Regions from separate parts of the Homo sapiens genome. Here all the other regions are linked to region 2. Evidence: promoter capture Hi-C in 16 types of primary human blood cells and fetal thymus (Javierre and others, 2016). All regions are on one chromosome and are shown on one strand. The core of a region is centred on a gene start or on the middle of the fragment in contact, and the rest is flanking DNA. Distances in the headings are between cores, read along the strand shown. Region 1 overlaps USP45 (ubiquitin specific peptidase 45). Region 2 holds the start of KLHL32 (kelch like family member 32). Region 3 holds the start of USP45 (ubiquitin specific peptidase 45). Region 4 overlaps CCNC (cyclin C).

Region 1 (2,700 bases), core at 54-2,553, 2.6 Mb before region 2:
CATTGGCTCACCTGTAGACTGTCAAATGACTGCTAAATGTTCCTCTAGAAATTTCTCTGTTTTCCTTTTGTTTACGCTATCTTGGGCCATCACCATATGTATACATGTACCTTATTTTCACACAGGGCTTCTGAAAGGTCTTCTGTGTATTTTACCATGGCTCTATCGGTAATAGTGACCTTTACTAAATGTAAAATGTACTCAACTAAATCTTAATATTTTTTGAAATAGACACTTTTGCTATGCTAGATGAAATTTGAGAGTGTATTCCATAAAATCAGAGGCATATTTTAACTGAATCTGAAGACTTTAATTTTGTTTTCTTTTAGAACTTGGCACAGACTTATACTCTTACTGATCTGATGAATGAGATCAAAGAAAGTAGTACAAAACTCAAGATTTTTCCTTCCTCAGACTCTCAGCTGGTGAGTAATAACTGTTTGAATAATAGCTGCTTTCAGATGAGCCACTGATGTTACCAAAATCTCTTTTCCTAATTCGCAGATCAGTCAACTAAGATAGTAGCCAGGGGGCTTAAAAATAATTTAAAAGCATTCTGTGAAAATAATCAGATTTAAAATTTCTAAAATCATAACTTTAAGGTATGTTATGGTTCCAATATGCCATGGATCAAATAATAAAAAGATATCAAGGCAGCTTTAAAATAAACATACTGGAAGAAACAAAAGAGGTGTGACTTCTATTGAGCAAAATGCCTATAACCCCTATTTTGTAGTTTCTGGTGACATTTGTTTAAATTTAGCATTTTTGTTCTTTAAAGAAAGATGAAATTTTAATAGTGAGCATCTAAAGGTTTTTTTTTTGAGACGGGGTCTCGCTCTGTCGCTGGAGTGCAGGCTGGAGTGCAGTGGCGCGATCTCAGCTCACTGCAAGCTCCGCCTCCCGGGTTTATGCCATTCTCCTACCTCAGCCTCCTGAGTAGCTGGGACTATAGGCGCCCGGCTAACTTTTTTTTTTTTTTTTTTTTTTTGTATTTTTAGTAGAGACGGGGTTTCACCATGTTAGCCAGGATGGTCTTGATCTCCTGACCTCGTGATCCACCCGCCTCGGCCTCCCAAAGTGCTGGGATTACAGGCGTGAGCCACCACGCCCGGCCACATCTAAAGGTTTTTTGAAGCCTAGCCTGATGATAGATTTTTAAGCTAGTGAGAAAGATGAAAAAAAGAGCAGCCCCTGATATTCAGAAGCTGGCCTGGCACCAACAGTTAGGCCATGTTATTCAGATAATCCCACAGAATAACAATCTGATAGTAGGTTTCTCTGAGACTACGATGAAATAAGACAAAGCAAGTCCACTTCATGATTTTGTCTAAAACAAGATCACTTTGCCATTTAGAAAATCTGAAACACCCTCCTTCAGCCAAAATGAGAAATGAAGGAATGCTACTTTACTAGTTAGAGATTTATCCTCATTTTAGTCTCCCCCACCAACTGCCACAATATGTAAGATTTATTGAGATGTCCCATGATAGAATTAGCCTCGCTTTCTGAGGGCATTCACTCTAGAGTAAACCTCTGCTTCCTGAAACCCACCTTCAGGTTATTCAACCAGAGCCTAAATCCTGGGTAGGTTCTTTACAGCACTCTCTTACTAGGACACCCTGTGGTTCCCCATGCTGCGTGATCTCCCTCACTGCCACAAGTAATAAACCCACCTAGTTCAACGATAGGTGTGTTTCTGATGGACTTTGGCTGGGAGGTGTTGATACTAGTAAGGATAATTTTAGTGAGAAATTGATCAGCCTGTGTGTGTGTGTTTGTGTGTGTGTGTAAGTGTGTAAGTCAGAGTATATGTATAGCTCATGATCTGACTTTTGAAAACAATTAAAGAGTTCTAAAAATGCTTAGCCCTCTAAACATGCTTAGTAATCTTAGATTGTTTTTCCCAGTAGGCACTTTTGAAAGACAGTATTGTTTTATATATATATCTTTGAAAGACAGTATTATTATATATATAACATACTGTTATATATATATAATAACCTCCTTTTTATATATATATTTACATGTAAATGTTTACCATATATATATGTATATATAGTCGAAAAGCAGCCTGTAAACATTTGTTCAGCCCCTTAAAAATTTAATGATAGATTCCAATGCCCTATTCTAAATAAAGTGTAGTGAGATCCTTAAAACTACTAAAGGGAAGTTATTGCCTAGTCATTTAAAAAGACCTGTTAAATGTGATTTCCTGTTAAATGCGATTGGATGTTGAGTTTAAATATTTGACATGCAGAGCTGTGTTTCAGGATTACTATATGGCAATTAGATACTGTAGTTAATAACTTTAGGTTTGTATCATTCTAACAGGGTAATTTTGAATCTTATATCTTAGGTTTTTAGGGCATAAAGTTGACCTGAGCTGTGGCACTGTTCTTTGAGTTGGTTACTGCCCTTTGAATCACCAGTTTATCTTTGTCTTTTGTCTATATACCGTTTATTTTTTTATTTTTATTTTTTTACCTTATTGTGCTGGCTCAGAGCTCCAGTAACATGTTGAATAGAGATGATGGGAGCAGTCAGCCTTGCCTTAATCCCAAAATTAGGGGAACAAACATTCAGCCTTCTCCCATTATTACATACGAAGGTACGATTTTCAGAGGTGTTCTTTGTAAGCTTGAGGACATTCCTTTCTATTGCTAGTTTTCTGAAAGTTTTATCGGAATGGATGTTGAA
Region 2 (2,978 bases), core at 45-2,544:
GCTGACCTGTTCCATTGGCCTATCAGTGTTCCAGTAGAGGACCCAGTCCCATCAGAAAAAAAACAAAAAGCAAAAACCACTGCACTTTCATATAAGCTCTAGTAAGCCATGGCACACATTTTATATCTATCTCTATCTGTGTATAGAGATAGATCTAAAAATAATCAATAAGAGATTTTTTAAAAAACAGAATCTTCTCAGAAATGAGCAGAGGTGCAAAAAACTGCGCTTCAATACTGATGCAGGGGATATAAAAATGCTAGCAAAGATGTATGTCATGAATGCTACCTTCTTACGTTACGAATTCACAAACGTATTCCTGTTCTGGTCAATTTACAATAGAAGCTCATTCTTGTGTGGGGAAACACAATTAAATCATCTGCTTTTAATTTAAAATAATCACGACTAAGTGAACTGCAAAATAAAACTGGAAATAGAGGGGAAGAAGGGATCTAAACTGCAGTCATCTTTCTTTATAAGATCACCAAAATGGGAGTAAATTATGATTCAAGACACAATCCGTTGAAAAATTCATCTGACGAATCCTTTTTAAAGCATACCATATAGTGCAATTACGGCTTTTCTTGAAGTTGAATGAAACCGCCACCTGAATACAGATTAACAAATGCCAAATTACGAAAGGTCCTCAGTGTATATTTTATTTTAAATATCAAAATAAATAACGGCATCATTTAAGAAACCAGTTCTTTCAATAGATGTCCCACGGCTGATGTTTAAGCAAGTCTCCTTGGCAACCAAGGAGCACAGTACATATTGGGCTCAGGGGGAGGGAAGAAAGGGGGAGCGACTCCAGGGCTGGCAGCATAAGTAACCTGAGTAGTGGCTGCTCCCGTTAGACGACACGGGCAGAGGCTGCATGGGCTGCAAGCCCCTGAAATGTCAACTCCGGGTCTGCCCCCACTTGGCGCACCAGCAGCCTCCCACCCTCTTCCTCAGGTCTGCAGAACAGGTTACAAGGAGAGAGACTGGCTTACCCGATGGGGTGAGCGGTCTGCTGGGTTAGGTGCCAGAGACGGCAGCGCAGGCACCGGCCTCTCCTTGATGCACAATGGCTCTGCTTCGCCCCACGATGCTGAGGTTAACAGAACCCGCAGTAGCTTCGCTCTGCTGGTTCGGGGATGCAGTAGCGAAGACGAGCGTCCTAGCGTGTTTGTGTGTGCGAAAGTGTGTGTGTGTGTGTGTGTGTGTGTGTGTGTGTGCCTGCGTGCGTGTGTGCGCGCGACTGCCTGCGCGCTCCCGAACTGTCGCGCGGGGAAACTGCTCCCTAGTAAATAAAAAGCCCTAGCCAGCACTGCAGGTGGCACGTCCCGCTGACTCCGCCCCAGGCGGTCGCGTCAGACTGGAGACGCACCTTGGCACCCCCGGGGCGGGTTCAGACGCCACAGGGCTCCGCCCCCTCCCGCCTCCAGCTAGCCCGCGCGCTCCCTCCCCCTCCCCCGCGATCCCGCGCACATCCTTTCGCCACCCCGCGCGCAACGCCACCGCCCGCCGCCAGCGCGCTCGCTCCCCTGCCGCCCCCCGCCCCCGCCCCCGCCGTCGGCGAGCTGCCAGCGCGCGCCCGCCGGTCCCGGAAGTACCCTCCTCCACGCCGCCCTCCTCCTCGCTCTCCGGCACCTGCGTCGCCGGCCCCTGGGTCACATGCGCAGTCTGTAGCCACCACTGCGGCGACTGAGACCCGGGAACCCAGCCTGCTCGCCCCCAGACTCCTTTCCCAGGGCTGGCGGGCAATCTGAGCAAACAGACCCCGTGGCCCTAACTCGGTGTTCCAGGGAGTCCTTGCTCTGCTAACTTGTGAAGTTCAAGTTGCCTCTAGTCCTAGCGGCCCTACAGTGGCCCTCCTTAGGATAATACACTCTATGGTACTGACCAGAACAAATTCACAGTAACTTTAAGAAACGTCAGGGGAACCAACCCGCCAGAGGTGGACGAAATCCCCAAGCCTGAGAAATGAGAAAGGGTGTGATTACTGTGGTTACTACTAATTCAGCAATAAAACCGCAAACAGACAACAACCACAGAACCATACCATTAAATTCCAGGGCCTGGCACACTCAAGTGCCACTTCCGAGTCATTCAGGTCACTCCTGTGTAAAACATGCTGAGAAACTCACACTAAAGCAAAGTGGGTAATTTTAATAGGTAAGTATTCCACCACCGAATTGAAAACCTTAGTCCAACGTGGAGGTAAGACACCAGAAGCAGGAAGAGTGTAACTAAATTGGAGTAAACTGTATTTTGTAGAAGTTCAGGATTTAACTTACTGCAAAGATAGTATGTTAATCCTATTTCTTGCAGGTTTATGTTCTGCCACAGAGTTGGGCTAGGAACAGTGCCCTGATCTATTTTGAGGTGTCCTTAATGTTCTCATTGGTCTCAAATCAGTGGTTCAGCGATTATTTTCTACTTCTAGATCCACAGGATTTGGGGGTTTATTCGTTTGCTCCCTCTGGAGGTTATCTGTCTGGCTTGTAGTGCTTCATTTTCATGGTTTTGATATCTGGACGCTAGGATGCTGGGTACCTACTTATCTAGCAGTCCTGGACACAGCATAGGACAAGGGAAAGAATGACAAACAACTGACTACAAACATTAGGTGCAGTGTCATCCTAAGAATTTTTCATAAGCAACTTGATAGTTTTCATTGCGTTGTCTTCTATCAGAAAATCGAATATGAAAGCGTCTTTGAACCAAAAATATTGACAGTGACTGGTATCAATAAATAAAACAGTCCTTTAAGATCCCCAAGGTGTTTGTCACTAAAGTGAGAATACTTAAAATTTTAAGCCCATCTATATTGATTGGATTATCTGTTTAGAATAAATAGCAGCTATTTATTTAGTATAATTAAATAGAGCAAAGACTATAATTGCATTTACACAGGAAAAGAATATTTACACCACCAACTCACCATCTGTGTGACTATGGAAGAGTCTCTTACTGCCCAAGCTGAGTGTCTC
Region 3 (3,009 bases), core at 118-2,617, 2.6 Mb before region 2:
GGTTATGCTAAGGGTCTATCTAGTGGAAATCAAGATAGCTTTGAATTTTGTCGTTTCCAAGAAAATTTAAGTATTGTATGGTATTTGATAATTTCTAATTTTTTTCTTATGAAGAAAAGAACCTAAATTTCCATAATCTAATTCAATCCCTTTTAAAAAATCAATCATAAACTGGGTTTCCACATATATTTTTTAAAATCTCTTTTACAGTGACACAATTAAGATGCAAATTATTTAGATTTGCTCAAGTTTGCTTGTTCTTGTTCTTCCAAGTTCTAGGTCAAATCCAAAGTTAAAATACATGAAAGCTTTTGATTTATGAAGTAGACAATTTTGCCTTCAAAATTACACCACATGACCTCTTCTTATTTGAGGAATATTTTCTTTTTCCCTAGGGAAAAAAATTATCCTAACCCCAAAATGATAGTGTACCTCTATACCTGTAACAGCAACTGGCATATCTGTGCTCAATTATGTTTGTTAAATGAATGGTCCTTGTTAAGTACGATATAAGCAAATATCAACCTTCTTTGCCAAGTTCTCCACATGTAAATACTGTTAGAAGAGTTTTTAAAGAAAAATTTAGTGTTTGCAATTTTAACTCTCGTATCTTCTGATTTCTACGCCAATGCTCTTATCCTTAAAGCCACATTTGTCCCTTGGCTGAAGAGTTGTGAAAGATCAGGAGACTTTTAGAACCTATCCATAACCAGTGTTGGCATTTGCAATATCCATGATTGAAACAAAATATTTTCAAACCAACTACTTTTACTAAACATGCAATGTGCTGGCCACTTCAACAGATAACCGGGCTTTGAGGAGGTATAGGTGTATTTCAAGAAATGTACTATCTAGCTAGGAAGAGAGAAGGATAGGTAAGACAACAGCAATGGGGGAAAAACCACAATAATATATGACGAATGTTAGATGTGACTTTAAGAGTTCAGGGGGCGGCGGGGGTGTGGGGGCGGAGCCGGGCGCGGTGGCTCAAGCCTGTGATCCCAGCACTTTGGGAGGCCGGGGCGGGCGGATCACAAGGTCAGGAGATCGAGACCATCCTGGCTAACACGGTGAAACCCCGTCTCTACTAAACAAAATACAAAAAATTAGCCGGGCGTGATGGCGGGCGCCTGTAGTCCCAGCTACTCGGGAGGCTAAGGCAGTAGAATGGCGTGAACCCGGTAGGCGGAGGTTGCAGTGAGCCGAGATCTTGCCATTGCACTGCAGCCTGGGCGACAGAGCGAGACTCCGTCTCAAAAAAAAAAAAAAAAAAAAAAGAGTTCAGAGGAGGGTAACGGAGGGAAATCGGAGGCTGTTTCAGAAGGTGCCCAGCAACAAGTGGGACTTAAGCCGGACTCCTGCAACATCCGAGGTGCGCACGCTGGCCCAGGATCCTAACAAATTGCTAGTCGGTGGCTATGAGTCTTAGATTATCAGGGACTCTCCGGGCTCTGCGGACACGCAGAACGCAGGCGCCACGCAAGCCGGCCCCGCCCTTTCACCCCTCCCCGCGCTCCCGGGCCCCGGGCGCGCCGCCTGGAACCCTCCCGGTCCTGGCTGGGGGCGGGCGAACGAGGCCCCACCTCTGCCGGGAGCGGGACGAGCGCGCAGGCGCAGTCTCCCCAGGTTGTAGACGCTGCGGCCCGGCCCGGCGGGGTGAGTTGAGAACGCGGCGCTTTGGTCGCAGCGGCGGTATGGTCGCCGCAGTTTCTCGGTCTTCGCTTCGGCGACCTTGACCCCCTTGTGGGTGGGCGAGGCTGGAAGAGAGGCTCCCCACCCCACTCGGCTTCCTGATCCCTGGGGGCGCCGGGCGGTCACCGAGGGCCGTGTGAGCGCCGCTCTGCCGGCTCCGGGTCCATGCGGCTGCGGGAGAAGCCCTGGGCGTCGGGGCTGGCCTGGGAGGGGCCCGAGTCCCCTGGTGACCTGGGCGCGCGGCGGCCCCACACCTTTCCGTCCGCCTCATCGCGGCGCATTTCTCTTCACATCCTCGGGGTGTGTGTGTGTTGGTGACCGGAGGAAGCCTGTCTAATGACTTTTCTGGAAGCGTCGTGTATTAGGAGCTCCGGGGCCGGACTGCTTGGGTCCGCATCTCCATCCACCGCTTACTGGCTTTGGGACCTCTGCAAGTCACTTCACTTCTCTTTCTCAGTTTCAAGTGTAAAATGCGGAAAATAATAGCAACTTATCTCCTAAGGTGGTTGTGAGGGTTGCGTGGGTTAATATTTGTGAAGTGCTTAGAACTGAGCGTGATACACAGCAAAACCATAAGTGCTGCTCATCTTTTTGAGCTTGGTATATAAAAGGAGATAGTGACCTTTTCTTCTCTTTCCAACCCCCATAAATAATTGCCCAAGAGTAGGAAAAAAGGATTTTTTTTTCTTAAGGATATGGGCTTTTTGCATAGCCTGTTTAAAAACAAAGCTTTCTAAACAACTTAGTTGCACATCCTACTTTAGAGAAAAGACAAGTGTTAAGTGATGGTGACTTGAAAACTGTAAAGTTTATTGTTTGGAAAACCGCATGAGAAAAATGGCCAGAACATATTTGTGCTAAAAAGAGTTAACATAGCAGGCCTTAAGACTGCTATCCTTAGAAAGGACTGCTTGCAATGTTGGTGCTTGTTTGGCATCTGGGAACTTAGATTTTTGGGTTTGTGCTGAACAGTATGTTTTATGCCGAAATTACCAGCTTCTGTAAAAATCCGGGACACCAAGTCTTTAATGGGCTTCCCTGCGCGGAAACTGCTGCATTTTCACTGATGGAGGAAGGATGTGTTTTGTTTGACCCCTCTTGGGAGGGAGACCGCATAAGGAGCCTACACGTGATTCCTCCAGACTCCGCTTGTGTCTTTTTCTATTATGATGAGCCTTTATATCCATACTGCATTGTGTAATAAATGTCAGCCATGAATTCAACTATATGTTGAGTCCCGTGCATCCTATCAAAGCTCTAAATGTGGGGGAGATCACGGAGATCCTCAGCCACAGTTTTGTAAATTTGTATAAAGGT
Region 4 (2,820 bases), core at 67-2,566, 2.6 Mb before region 2:
ATTTCGGATTCTTGGTTTAGCTAGGCCGCGGGGGGTCGGATAGAGTGGGCACAGGTACGGGAAGTGTGACTCAGCTCAAGACTGTGAGGCTACCTGTTCAGGACAGTTGTGGCGTGCTTTTACCTGGGGTTTCTTCGGGTGATCGGCGTCGTGGTCTTTTGTCATTCACTGTATATCTTGAGTGGATTTAATATTATGAGGAGAGGAGAGAGTCTGGCTTGTTTCTGCCTACTAACCGCTTCTTGCGCGTACTTTATGTCTAGATGGAGTTTTATATTGATAAGGTATAGGGCAGGTGCCCTCTAAATTTATCCATTTCATTAGCCTGTGCTTTATATTTTGTTTTAAAGGCCTATTTTTCCAGTGACTTTGTTTACCTGTTTCTTTAACCTTTTTCATGAATAAGTTCTTGTTTCTGTCAGTGACCATGTGAGAGCTAGAATAATATTAAAAACATTTATCCCTAAATACATTTGTTTAAGCAGGCAGGAAGGTGCGTTATGGGGTAAATTGAACATTTGAGTAGGCTTTCCACTGTATAGTTGAAAGATGAACAGAATTTGACAAGGTATCTTGGTATAATTTTTTATGCTAAGAAAGCATTAGTAAGTAATTTAAATTTCGATTCTGTGAATAGGATCTGTTCCTGATGTTCATTTTTTAGCCCTTTGCAAAGAGAAAAAAAGAAACAATGAACTCAGTAACCTATTTAAGGAAAAGCAGGTTTTCCTCTTGCTATAAAGTGATTCTGTGGAGATGACATGTTAAAGAAGCTTTACCACTGATCATATGTGTGTGTGTGTATATATATGTGTGTGTGTGTATGTATATATATATGTGTGTGTATATATGTTGCATTGTTTTCACACACTGAAATATTGCTTGGGCAAAATTAAAGTATCGAAAGTTTAGGTATTGGAGTTAGAGCTCCTGAAAAAAAAAGTTTAGGTAGTGGAGAAGAGATATTCTGATAAACTCTGAAAGAAGCTGAGAGAATTGACAAGTAGCTGACTGTTGATTTTTCAGTTTTTCAACTTAAAAAAAAAAGATCCTGCCTTATTTTCAATAGTGTTCTCATTATGCTTTCATTTATTCATAGCATTCTAAAAATATGTTTTCACTTTTCAAATATAAAATTATTATAAAGTTAAGTGTACTTCTTTGAAACTATTCTTTTCTCCCAATTCAAATAGTCCTAAAAGAAGGGACCACTTTGCCTTGCTCAAATCCCTTGAGCAGTCATGGAGTTTCTTATCTGGAAAAGGTAACGAGTGTGGAAGACAAGACAATTCTGGAAAAACAAACGAAAAGATTATGAAAGGCCATTGTCTTAGGTGAATTTGGTGAAAGAGGGCAATTGATATTAAATATGCTATATTTCATGCTTCTAAGATGCACGTTTTCACACTTTAACATCTTTGAAATCAGCATGGCAGTTGCTTTCATAGCATATGAAATAATGATGAATCCTAGATGTAATCTTAAATTTGATGAAATGCAGTATTTATAAAGTTTTTTAGTTTATTCTCCATACAGAGTTCTGTGAGGAAAACTCATAAAATGTTTGTGAAATTTATCTTTTTAAAAACATAAAATGACTCTGTGGGGATGAAATTAATTAGCAAACCACAGTGTAGTTGAGGTAGAACAAAACACAGTCTGTGACCAAAATGAACTAGAAGGGCACTAAGTATTTGCTGGTTAATTGAATGCATTAATGAACAAGTAACAAAAATAAAAACTACAAAACTAACTGTGGATACTTTATTGGTATCCACAGGAAACTGAAAATACAGTTACTTACTATCTAGAAAATAACATCATAATAGTACCATATATGGAATGTAACCAAAGCTTGAATGTATTAGAAAATCAATATCCTGAATAATTGAGAGATAATAGAAATATTCTATTTAATAATATTAAGAAGGAAACATGAAATAAACCTAAAGAAACAGAAAGACTTAAAATAGATAACGATGCTAATATATTAAAAGGAAAAAAATTATAAAAGCTAATTCTTAGAGTAAATAAAAACAGTAGACCAAACTACTGCTAGTTAAATCAGGGGAAAAAGGAATGATACAAAAATACAAAATTAGGAATGAGAAAAGTAAACCCAGGGGTACTTTTGGGTTATCTCCAGGGTTTTAAATTTGAAAGCCAAAGCAAGTTAAGAGTATTACCCAAGAGCTATGTGTTATTTCATGGGTAAATACTTTCCATCTTTCAAGAGAATCTCCTTTTGAAATTGTTCCATTTCATACAGAAAGAAGAAAAGCTTTCTAATTCTCTTTATGAAGCCATGATAACACAGAAAAATCTAGCAAAGGGAACACTAAAAACAGTCTCACTTTTGAATATTAATGCAAACATTGTAAATGAATTATTACCAAATGCAGTCTAACATTACATTGAAAGTATAAAACATGACATTGGATTTTATTATAGAAATATAGTCAATATTAAGAAATCAAGCAGTAAAGGTATTAAAAAACTAATACAATTCAACATTTATCCTTGACTAAAGCTCTTACTAAAACAGAAATAGGATGCTTCCTTAACATGAAAAACATAAAGCATCAGCAGTGGTGAAACATTGAGATAATTAGGGTGCCTATTTAAGATTTTACCAATATGCTAGTCAATACAGTTGATACAAAGGAGATATAGAAAGAATGACAAAACAGGGACAAAATTATCAATACGTGGAAATAAAATTAATGAGAAAACTCAGTTAATTGAGAAGTTATTAGAAATAATAAAGGTTTAGGAAGGTGACCAGTTATAAAATGCAAAAATAAAAGCTTTTTAAAAATG

Evidence for each region. Contacts are between HindIII fragments. The CHiCAGO score rates a contact against its expected background, and 5 or more counts as called.
Region 1: a fragment that was not itself captured here is called in contact with the fragment with the promoter of KLHL32 in region 2 in 1 of 17 cell types (total B cells); the score reaches 6.9 in total B cells.
Region 3: a contact is called between a fragment that was not itself captured here and the fragment with the promoter of KLHL32 in region 2, in 3 of 17 cell types (non-activated CD4 T cells, activated CD4 T cells and naive B cells). The highest score is 7.9, in non-activated CD4 T cells.
Region 4: a fragment that was not itself captured here is called in contact with the fragment with the promoter of KLHL32 in region 2 in 1 of 17 cell types (activated CD4 T cells); the score reaches 6.3 in activated CD4 T cells.

Annotation. Positions count from the first base shown.
Region 1 is chr6:99,485,925-99,488,624 of GRCh38, reverse strand. It overlaps USP45 (ubiquitin specific peptidase 45), which reads left to right. Exons shown (of 18, transcript NM_001346022.3): 7 at 330-425. Among named protein-coding and RNA genes, the nearest start is that of USP45, 28 kb to the left of the region's middle. The HindIII fragment of the contact is 2,678 bases long and covers 1-2,642 here.
Region 2 is chr6:96,923,044-96,926,021 of GRCh38, reverse strand. KLHL32 (kelch like family member 32) reads right to left here and starts at 1,294. Exons shown (of 11, transcript NM_052904.4): 1 at 996-1,294. RefSeq lists a silencer at 1,258-1,567. The HindIII fragment of the contact is 7,655 bases long and covers 1-2,978 here.
Region 3 is chr6:99,514,039-99,517,047 of GRCh38, reverse strand. USP45 (ubiquitin specific peptidase 45) reads left to right here and starts at 1,625. Exons shown (of 18, transcript NM_001346022.3): 1 at 1,625-1,656. RefSeq lists silencers at 838-1,057, 1,368-1,737, 1,788-1,887 and enhancers at 804-1,709, 1,710-2,617. The HindIII fragment of the contact is 2,113 bases long and covers 311-2,423 here.
Region 4 is chr6:99,565,412-99,568,231 of GRCh38, reverse strand. All of the region lies in intron 1 of CCNC (cyclin C), which reads left to right. It also overlaps the pseudogene TSTD3. Among named protein-coding and RNA genes, the nearest start is that of CCNC, 1.8 kb to the left of the region's middle. The HindIII fragment of the contact is 1,081 bases long and covers 776-1,856 here.